Regions from separate parts of the Homo sapiens genome. Here region 2 is linked to region 1. The links are contacts of gene promoters, found by promoter capture Hi-C in human tissues and cell types (Jung and others, 2019). All regions are on one chromosome and are shown on one strand. Each heading gives the region's core, a stretch centred on a gene start or on the middle of the fragment in contact. The rest is flanking DNA. Distances are from core to core; before and after follow the strand shown. Region 1 holds the start of RNF216 (ring finger protein 216). Region 2 has its middle 25 kb from the start of OCM.

Evidence for each region. Contacts are between HindIII fragments. The study calls those that stand out against the background at their distance.
Region 2: a contact is called between a fragment that was not itself captured here and the fragment with the promoter of RNF216 in region 1, in 2 of the 25 tissues and cell types used here (heart right ventricle and mesenchymal stem cells).

What each region holds. Positions count from the first base shown.
Region 1 is chr7:5,778,637-5,784,078 of GRCh38, forward strand. It overlaps RNF216 (ring finger protein 216), which reads right to left and starts at 3,027. Exons shown (of 17, transcript NM_207111.4): 1 at 2,905-3,027. RefSeq lists a silencer at 2,436-2,825. The HindIII fragment of the contact is 32,599 bases long and covers 1-5,442 here.
Region 2 is chr7:5,852,727-5,858,340 of GRCh38, forward strand. It overlaps the pseudogene ZNF815P. Among named protein-coding and RNA genes, the nearest start is that of OCM, 25 kb to the right of the region's middle. The HindIII fragment of the contact is 4,199 bases long and covers 981-5,179 here.

The DNA of each region.
Region 1 (5,442 bases), core at 1,777-4,276:
AGGATAATTAGTGGCATGAACTCTGGGTCCAAACTGAGTTCAAGTTCCACGCTGACCCTTACAAGTTTTGGGACTAGATATTTTTCAGCACCTCAGTTTCTTTTTTTAAAATTATTATTATTTTTGAGACGGAGTCTCGCTCTGTCACCCAGGCTGGAGTGCAGTGGCACAATCTCGGATCACTGCAACCTCCGCCTCCCGAGTTCATGTGATTCTCCTGCCTCAGCCTCCCCAGTAGCTGGGATTACAGGCGCACGCCATCACACCTGGCTAATTTTTGTATTTTTAGTAGAGACGGGGTTTCACCATGTTGGCCAGGCTGGTCTCGAACTCCTGACCTTAGGTGATCTGCCCGCCTCGGCCTCCCAAAGTGCTGGGATTACGGGCGTGAGCCACACCATTCCCAACTATGTTCTATTATCTTTAACAATAATGCAAATATAATGATATCAGGTATGAGAATGAATTATGTCTCTAAAGAGCTAGAATATAGCAATGCCTAGAATTTTGTAAACACATTAAATAGTAGCTGGTAGTAGAATCAGCAAATACCAGCTCTCTCAACTATCCTATTCATCAACTTTCGATCTGCCTCACTCACACCTAACCCTTCTTTATCAGATTTCTCCACAGGGGCTTCAGGAGTTCTCTTTTATTAGCTGCTGCTGCTCTAATCAGGGTAAAAATCTAAAGCCTCGAATGAGGTTTGCCAGGGGGTCCAAAATCTGGCCCAGACTCTCCAGGCATTTCCTCAAATCCACCACTACTCCCCACACCCCAGGCGCAATAAATTATGAAATACAAAACCAAGGCAAAGCCAGGCCATGTATTAGCCTTCTTCCTTAAAGCAAGCCGACTAAATTGAGATGTTTCATAGAATCTTCCCGCTTCTCTCCCTTCTCAGCGCGTAAAGAATGTTCTGGCAGAGCACGGTGGCTAAAGCCTGTAATTCTTGTGCTTTGGGAGGCTGAGGGTCACTTAAACCCAGGAGTTGGGCAGCACAGCTAGACTCCGTCTCTTAAAAAAAAAAAAAAAAAAAAAAGTTAGCCGAGCGTGGTGGTGCGCGCCTGTAATTCCAGCTACTCGGGAGGCTGAGGCAGGAGAATTACTTGAAGCTGGCAGGCGGAGGGTGCAGTGGGCAGAGATGGCACCACTGCACTTTAGCCTGGGAAATACAGCCAGACTCCGCCTCAAAAAAAAAAAAAAAATGCTCAATGAATGGGCTGGGGTGGGTGGGGCAGAGAGGAGCTGACGGGACATACTACATCTAAAACGCCACTGTTTCCGAGGGACGCGGATATGCTCTGGTCCCCCACCTACATCCCATTCAGTAAACAAAGGTACCCACCGAAACATACAGCAGCACAAACCCATTTTTATAAGACCCTGTGCCTGACTATTGCAGGAAGATGGAGGACAAACAACAGCTGGAGAATAGATGAGCTGATGTTTGGCTCCTAACCTCTAAAACAATGCCAACCCAGCCCCTTCCAGGAGTAACAGCTTGAAAACAATACATGGCATTTAGATAGTTTTTAGCATTCCTGGCAATTCCGTTACTAATTCATGGGTCTTCCTCACAAGGGAAGAAACCCCATTTTTGAGGCACAGGCCCACCAGGGCAAAATGACCTGGCCAGGCTGGAGCCAGGTGCATGTGAGGGCCACTGTGAGGCCCTCTGCTCTGCTCACCCTCTACGTCACAGTGCTTCTTCTGTAGGTGAACGTGTGGGTTTTCAGCCAGGGCGCTTCTTACTGAAGGGCCCGAGGGTCCCGGAGAACATATCTGAAACGTCTTTTGAAAAGACTGTAGCACTTTGGGAGGCCGAGGCGGAGGGATCACCTGAGGTCAGACGTTAGAGACCAGCCTGGCCAACACGGAGAAATCCCGTCTCTACTAAAAATACAAAAATTAGCTGGACGTGGTGGCAAATGCCTGTAATCCCAGCTGAGGCAATCCCTGTGAGGCTGAGGCAGGAAAATCGCTTGAATCCGGGAGGCAGAGCTTGCAGTGAGCCGGGATCGCGCCACTGCACTCCAGCCTGGGCAACAGAGCAAGACTCCGTCTCAAAGAAAAGGAGAAAAAAAAAAAAGTAAAAGAAAAAAGAACGTTCTCTTTGCACGATCTAAGTACCTAGGACAGCTGCTACCCAGGCCCTTAGGGATTTACAGAGCCCTGTCGGATTTGTCAGAAATTTCTGTAACCCGCACGCCGCGCACGCTCCAGGGTTGGTTGCAAGTGGCCCAGAGTCTTGGATCCCTGGTCCTGTTCCACCGGGAGCAGAACCACCTCGACGCGGGGACAGCGGCCTCGCTCGCTGCCCAGCGCCCGGACACCCGAGCCGGGCCAGCCCCCAGCGCCCCGCAGAAGGGTTTGACGCACTTGCGGCGCCCTCGCGAGTGCCGGGTGACAGTCGCCAACTTTCGCGGAACACGCGCTCCAGATGTGAGGGAAGAGGAGGAAAAACGCCGCCCGCCTGGGCTGGGGTTCACAGGCACGGCCCGCCTCCCGCCGCTCCTCCAGGCCGCGCTCGGGTGCACGGACACCGCCTCCGCGGCGGCCTCGGGCCCGGGGGAGGGAAGCGCGGTCTCCCGGGCTGTTGCCCTCGCGCAGCAGACCCGAGGGGCCGGCCCGCGAAACTTCGCGAAGTGGCGAGAGGGGGCCACCCGGCCGCTCAGCGCCTTTGTCGCTCCAGCCTCGCCACCGCACCGGGCTCGAGACGCCCAGCCCAGCCCCTTGGCCCGATCCCGCCCGGGCCTCGGCCCGCGCCCCTCAGCTCGGCGGCCCTCACGGCCCGCGCCCCCGCCCCCACCCCCGGAGCTCCACAGAGGCGCCCCTCAGAGAGGCCGCGTCGCCTCACAGACCCGCCCAGGAGCTCGAGCGCGCCCCGCAGCCGACACTCACTCGTCACTCAAGTCGCCGGCTAGCCAGGCAGGTTCGGCGGCCTTCGCTACCGCGCCGCTTACTCCTCAGAAGCCGCAGCTGCGAGCTCCGTGGCAGCCGCTGCACTCCTTCCGGCCCTGCCGCGGCGTCACCTCGCGCCTGCGCACAGCGCCCCCTCCCGACTAAGGACAGGAAGAACCATAGAGGCACTCCGGGTACTGCGGAGGAGGGACCGGGGGGCTCACCATAGAGAGGGCCGCCTAGTCGCGCCTGCATCCGGGCTCTCCGCCTGCGGAGACTTGACTCCCCCACGAGGCAGGAGGGTGAAAGGAAAGGAGACCCCCATATCCGACCCCACAAGGAGCCACCATCTCCCCAGAGCTGAAAAGGGTATGGGGCAGGTGGTTGTGGATGTTTACTCGATATCTACTGATTTGCCCTAATTCGTTTGGCAAGTCATTCATTCATTCTGCAAATATATTCTGCGGATTTCCTGTGGGCCACACACTGTTCTAGGAATTGGGGAAATTAAGAGTAAAGTGGGTCCCATGGCTGGGCACAGTGGCTCACGCCTGTAATCCCAGCACTTTGGGAGGCCAAGGCGGGTGGATCACTTGAGGTCAGACGTTGGAGACCAGCCTGGCCAACATGGTGAAACCCGTCTCTACCAAAAATAAAAAAATTAGCCAGGCATGGTGGCGGATGCCTGTAATCCCAGCTACTCAGGAGGCTGAGGCGGGAAAATCACTTGAACCTGGGAGGCGGAGGTTGTAGTGAGCCAACATGGCGCCCCTGCACTCCAGCCTGGGCAACAGAGCAACCCTCCATCTCGAAAAAAAAAAAAAGTAAAATGTGTTCCTGGCCTCAGGAAGTTTAGGTTTTAGTGAGCAAGTGAATAACTGACTAAAATACTGCTCCTGCTGGGCACAGTGGCTCATGTCCATAATCCCCGCGCTTTGGAAGGCCAAGGCAGGAGGATCGCTTGAGGCCAGGAGTTCAAGACCAGCCTTAGCAAAATAGCAAGACCCCAACTCTTAAAATAATTGCTGGCCAGGCGTGGTGGTTCACGCCTGTAATCCCAGCACATTGGGAGGCCGAGGCAGGCAGATCACTTGAGGTCAGGAGTTCGAGACCAGCCTGGCCACCATGGTGAAACCCCGTCTCTACTAAAAATACAAAAATTAGCTGGGCATGGTGGTGCGTGCCTGTAATCCGAGCTACTCGGGAGGCCGAGGCACAAGAATTGCTTGAACCGAGGAGGGGGAGGTTGTAGTGCAGTGATTATGCCACTGCACTTCAGCCTGGGTAACAGAGTGAGACTGTGTCTCAAAAAAAAAAAAATTGCCAAGTACACCTTCAAGTAGAGATATCAAGTCAGTAATTAGATAAATGAGTCTGGGCTGGGCATAGTGGCTTATACCTGGAATCCGAACATTTTGGGAAATGGAGGTGGGAGGATGGCTTGAAGCCAGGAGTTTGAGACGATCCTGGGCAATAGAGTAAGACCCCATCTTTACAAAAATAAAAATTAGCCGGGCATGGTGGTGCGCACCTATAGTCCCAGCTACTCAGGAGACTGAGGTGGGAGGATTTTTTTGTTTTGTTTTGTTTTGTTTGTTTTGTTTTTTTGGACAGAATCTCACTCTGTCAGCCAGGCTGGAGTGCGGTGGCACGATCTTGGCTCACTGCAACCTCCACCTTCTGGGCTCAAGCGATTCTCCTGCCTCAGCCTCCTGAGTAGCTGGGATTACAAGCATGTGCCACCACGCCCGGCTAATTTTCGTATTTTCAGTAGAGACAGGGTTTCACCATGTTGGCCAGGCTGGTCTTGAACTCCTGACCTCAGGTAATCTACCCACCTCGGCCTACCAAAGTGCTGGAATTACAGGAGCGAGCCACTAAACCCGGCCAGAGGATTGTTTGAGCCCAGGAGTCCGAGGCTGCTGTGAGCTATGATTGCACTGCTGCACTCCAGCCTGGATGACAGAACAACAGCCTGTCTCAAAAGAAGCAAACAAAAACAAAACAGGGAAATGAGAGGAACAATAGTCTTGATGCGGCAATGAGTGTTCCTTCTCTAAGACAGTAGAGTGTGGCTTATGGGGGCTTGCATGGGACAGAAAAAGACCACTACTCATAGTGCTTTGGGGAACAGTGTCCTGAGGGAATAGTCATGTTTCAGTGAAGTAGAAATTGAAGGGCTGCTTACAGAACAGGACGAGGATCTAGGGATCTTACAGATGTCAGGCCCTGAGTTAGAGGGTGCAGTGCATGGGAGACATTAGAGGGTGAACAGGAGAGAGAGTTTAAGATAGATACTTACCTGAGATGAGATCCTGGAATCACCTGGAAGGTAAAACAAAGGCATTGGCCTTGATGAGCTTATCCTCCATGCTGGTCCTCTTGGGGGAGGTGGATAATCGCTGTCAGTTACAGCCTTCTTCTTAGGATGGTCCTCATAAGCCCTTTGAGATGTTGGAAGAAAGCAGTATTGGAAGGAGAGCTTGGTGATCTTAGCAGGAGTGCAAGGTTCTTTCCGGACCACTGAACCCCTCTGTG
Region 2 (5,614 bases), core at 1,830-4,329, 74 kb after region 1:
CTCACTAACTTTTTAACTTTTTCATAGAGATGGGGTCTCGCTCTGTTACCCAGGCTGGTCTCAAACTCCTTGCCTCAAGCATTCCTCTTGCCTCTACCTCCCCAAGCAGTGGGATTACAGGCGTGAGCCACTGCACCTGGCTAATTTTTAAATTTGTAGCAGAGATGGGTGTCGCACGATGTTGCCCAGGCTGAGTCTATATTTTCATACGGTCATTATTCCCCATGTTAAACTTAGAGGCAAAGTCTTATTATTATGGTTGTAGTTGAGAAAACCTGGGCTCAGCAATATAATAAGGTTCATCTGAGGTCAGCCAGTTTATAGCACACCTGAGTTGGGACTGGACCCCACCCCCCCACCCCCCCACCGACCCCCCGCCCTCAACTCTTCTGTCGGGTATAAGGTGCTGCCTACATAATGCAAAATATCCACAGTAAATTACAGCGAGGTGAGGCTGGAGCTGTAGTCTGCATGACAAAGCAGTCTTTAACACACAAACACACTGCAGTAATCACTGTGTACAGTATTCCCCTGTGAGAGTTAGTTGGCTTTTAGGTTGAAAATAAGCTGAGTCTCTGAAACAAGAAACATGTCAGATTGCTTTGCCAAAAAGAGATTCACACAATTTTTTTTGAGACACTGTCTTGTTCTGTTGCCCAGGCTGAGTGCAGTGATGCAATCATGGCTCACTGCAGCCTCGACCTCCTGGGCTCAAGTGATCCTCCTGCCTCAGCCTCCTGAGTAGCTGGGACCACAGGCATGCACCACCGCACCTGGCTAATTTTTTATTTTTTGAAGAGATAGAGCCTCACTATGTTGTCCAGTCTGGTCTCGAATTCTTGGGCTCAAGCAATGCTCCCGTCTCAGCCTCCCAAAGTGCTGGGATTACTGGGATTACAGGCATGAGCCATAGCACCCGGCCTCAGACACGTAGGACGAAATCTCCAAACTGCTTCTCTATAAAGGACAGAGGGTGACTCAAGAACATGAGCTCGGCCAGGTGTGGTGGCTCATGCCTCTAATCTCAGCACTTTGGGAGGCCAAGGTGGGTGGGTCACTGGAGGTCAGGAGTTCGAGGCCAGTCTGGCTAACATGGTAAAACCCCATCTCTACTAAAAATACAAAGCCAGGCACGATGGCAGGTGCCTGTAATCCCAGCTACTCAGGAAGCTGAGGCAGGAGAATCACTTGAACCTGGGGGGCGGAGGTTGCAGTGAGCCGACATAGCGCCATTGCACTCCAGCCTGGGCGACAGAGTGAAACTCCATCTCAGAAAAAAAAAAAAAAACGTGAGTTCAAGGAACCTGACCCTCACGCTGTCTTATTTCCACCTTGGGCGTTTATTTCCTTGTTTATTTGTGTTTCTTTTCTCCTCCCCAGAAAGCTGACTTCATGAGACCGAGGATCTCGTTCGTTGATCGATGCTACATATTCAGCATGTTAGATAATGAGGTTGGTGAGATTGATGAAATCCCGCCCACCAGGGCCGACCCACAAAGAGCCACTTTATGAAGAACATGCTCCTGAACTCCACTCCACAACCAGCTTTTGAAAAGAAAAATCTGAAAAAATTTGACCTCAGTTAAACTGGTCCAAATGCCTGAGCATAACCAAAATCTTTCCTCATTCACTCTTCACGTGGACCGTGTTTAATTTGGTTGCTGGTGATCATATTTGTTTTAGTAAAGGCTGTCACTCTATCTTGGGCGAAGATTTGGGTTCTGTGGACTGATGTTATTTTATTTTGTTATTTCATTTTATTTATTTTAATTTTAATTTTATTTATGTTATTTTATTTTATGTTTTACTTGAGACAGGATCTCACTCTGTTACCCAGGCTGGAGTGCAGTGGTGTGATCACAGCTCACTGCAGCCTCAAACTCCTGGGATCAAGTGGTCCTCCTGCCTCAGCCTCCCGAGGAGCTGGAACCACAGATGCATGCCACCACGCCCAACTATTTTTTTTTTTTTTTATTTTTGGTAAAGACAGGGTCTTGCTATGTTGCCTCGGCTGGTCTCTAACTCCTAGGCTCAAGCCATCTTCCCACCTCAGACTCCCAAAATGCTAGGGTTGCAGGTGTGAGCCATTAGATGTCGTGATTTAAAACAAAAACCTCTTCTGTGTTTGACACGGGGCCTTTGCACTCGTGCTCTGGCCCTCTGCCGTGGTGCCGCAGTTCTCACTCTGGGATTTTTATTACCTCTGACGTGCCTTCCTGTGGTGACATCTATAGGCAGCTGCATAAATCATGCCCACAAAGAAGGACAAACCGAGGAGCCTGGAGAAGTCAGGGTTCCTCTGGAAATAAATATTCTGTATTCTGTTGCACGCACACATATGTGCCCTTTTCTTTTTTTGAGATGGAGTTTTGCTCTTGTTGTCCAGGCTGGAGTGCAATGGCATGATCTTGGCTCACTGTTATCTCCTCCTCCTGGGTTCAAGCAATTCTCCTGTGTCAGTCTCCTGAGTAGCTGGGATTACAGGCACCCGCCACCATGCCTGGCTAATTTTTTTTGCATTTTTAATAGAGATGGGGGTTTCACCATGTTGGCCAGGCTGGTCTCGAACTCCTGACCTCAAGTGATGCACCCACCTCGGCCTCCCAAAGTGCTGGGATTACAGCCACGATGCTTAGCCCATATTTTCTTATTATCAAAAATCCTAATACTTTATATAGCCTCTAACCCACAATTCCCCTTCCATGAACTTAAAATGTTTACAGAAATTGTGGAGATCTCCCCTTCTTATGGCCAAGATGGATAACCCTTCTTGCCTTAAATACCTACAACTGTACAAAACATAGGAAACAGCAGTTTCTTTTCGTTTTTGAGAAGGGTCTTGCTCTGTTGTATAGGCTGGAGTACAGTGGCAAAATCAGGGCTCATTGCAGCCTCAACTTCCCAGGCTCAAGCGATCCTCCCACCTCTGCCTCCTGAGTAGCTGGAACTACAGGTGTGAGCCAGCATGGCTGGCTAATTTTTATAATTTTTGTAGAGATGGGGTTTCACCGCATTGCCCAGGCTGGTCTTGAACTCCTGAGCTCAAGCCATCTGCTCACCTCAGCCTCCCAAAGTACCGGGATTACAGGTGTGAGCCACCAAAAGCTTTAATTCTTTTTTTTTTTTGAGATGGAGTCTTGCTCTGTCACCCAGGCTGGAGTACAGAGGCACTGTCTCGGCTCACTGCAACTTCTGCCTCCCCAGTTCAAGTGATTCTCCTGCTTCAGCCTCCCAAGTAGCTGGGATTACAGGTGCTCACCACCACGCCTGGCTCATTTTTGTATTTTTAGTACAGATGGGGTTTTGCCGTGTTGGCCAGGCTGGTCTCAAAGTCCTGACCTCAGGTGATCCGCCCACCTCGGCCTCCCAAAGTGCTGGGATAACAGGTATGAGCCACCACACCCGGCCCACTGCTCCCTTTTGACCAATAATTTGGGAATGTGATTTTAAAAAAGCTTTAATTCTTTATATAGCCTCTAACTCACCCTTCCAGGAACTTAAAATGTTTTATTTTTTTCTTGAGACAAGGTCTCACTGTGTCACCCAGACTGGAGTGCAGTGGTGCCAACATGGCTCACTGCAGCCTGGATCTCCTGGGCTCAGGCAGTCCTCCCACCTCAGCCTCCCGAGTAGCTGAGACTATAGGCGCACATTGTCATGCTCGGCTACTTTTAGTATTTTTATTTTCTTGGAGAGATTGGGGTCTTGCTGTGTTGCCCGAGCTGGGTTCGAACTCCTGGTCTCAAGCAGTCTTCCCCCTTCAGACTCCCAAAATGTTGTAAAAATTGTGGAGACTTCCCCAACTTATGGCCAAGATGGATTAACCCTCTTGCCTTAAATACCTAGAAAACCGTACAACACATACGCAAAGGCAGTTTTTAGACACCGGTCAATAGGTGGCACTAAAGACCATGATCTCCGTTAGGGGAGAAACCAATGAGGCAAAGTGTTTCCAGCTGCCGCGGGAGGAGGGCAGCCGGGCAGAGCCCAGTGTTCTCCCTGAGTGCAGGAGACAGAGCTGAAAGTGTGAGCAGGCCTGGCCAGGTGCGGTGGTTCACGCCTATAATCCTAGCACTTTGGGAGGCCGAGGTGGGTGGGTCACTTGAGGTCAGGAGTTCGAGACCAGCCTGGCCAACATGGTGAAACCCTGTCTCTACTAAAAATACAAAAAATTTAGCTGGGCGTGGTGGTGCATGCTTGTAATCCCAGCTAGTCAGGCGGCTGAAGCATGAGAATCACTTGAACCTGGGAGGTGGAGGTTGCAGTGAGCCGAGATCGCGCCACTGCCCTCCAGCCTGGGCCAGAAAGCGAGACTCTGTCTCTAAAAAAAAAAAAAAAAAAAGTTTGAGCAGGCCAAAGCAGCTGGAATTTGCAGGATGGAATCCTGCGGGAGAGATATGCAAAAAAACCCAAATTCTGCAGCTTTGCAAAGGAAACCTCTTGACTCTGAAGCTGAGTGGGATCACCTCACACATGGAGGAAATTACCCGAGCAAGACTAGGGGAAGGAATCACACAATAGAAACAGGCAGAATAATTCCAAAGTCCACAAAAAGCTGGGAACCGTTCGTGTTTCCAGCAGGCAAAGTGAAAAACCTCATAATACCTGGGGCATTGAATCAAGTGTTCAGAGGGGCGTTGCCTTCGTGGTGCGGCAGAATTGGCCCTAGACTAAGGGTTGGTCTAGTTCTGCAAGTCTCAAAAGGACCACGCATCTGGGTGCGGAGGTTCACGCCTGTGATCCCAGTACTTTGGGAGGCCGAGGCGGGTGGATCACCTGAGGTCAGGAGTTCAAGACCAGCCTGGCCAACATGGTGAAATCCCCGTCTCTACTAAAAATACAAAAATTAGCTGGGCGCGGTTGTGCGCACCTGTAGTCCCAGCTACTAGGGAGGCTGAGGTGGGTGGATCGCTTGAACCCAAGGGGCAGAGGTTGCAGTGAGTTGAGATTGTGTCACTGCACTCCAACCTGGGTGACAAACCGAGTCTCACTCTCAAAAAAAAAAAAAAAAAAAAAGATTACGCTATTTCCAAGTCACTTAACCATGTCCCAGAATAAGCTCAAGAATATATTTTTTAAACAAGAATATTCAGCACCCAACCAGGTAAAATTCACAATATCTGGTGCCCAGTAAAAAATCACCAGGCATGGCAGGAAGTGTTGGCTCACACTTATAATCCCAGCACTTTGGGAGGGTGAGGCAGGAGGATTGCTTGAGGCCAGGAGTTCAAGATCCAGACTGGGCAACATAGCGAGATCTCATCTCTACAAAAGTAAAACTAAAAAATTAGCCAGGTGTGGTGGTGCACACCTGTAAGCCCAGTCAGTTGAGAGGCTGAGGTGGGAGGATTGCTGAAGCCCAGGAGGTTGAGGCTGCAGTGAGGTATGGTGGTGCCGCTGCCCTCCAGCCTGGGTGACACAGCAAGATCCTGTCTCTGAAAAAAAATAATCATCAGGTATGCCAAGAAGCAAGGATTATATCCCAGGAAGAGGAGAAAAATCAATGAAATGAAATGACAAAGATAGAACTAATAAAGAGATTAAAACACTTACTACAACTATTTGGTATGTTCAAGAAGGTAAATGAAAATATGAGCATGTTATGGGTAAGTAT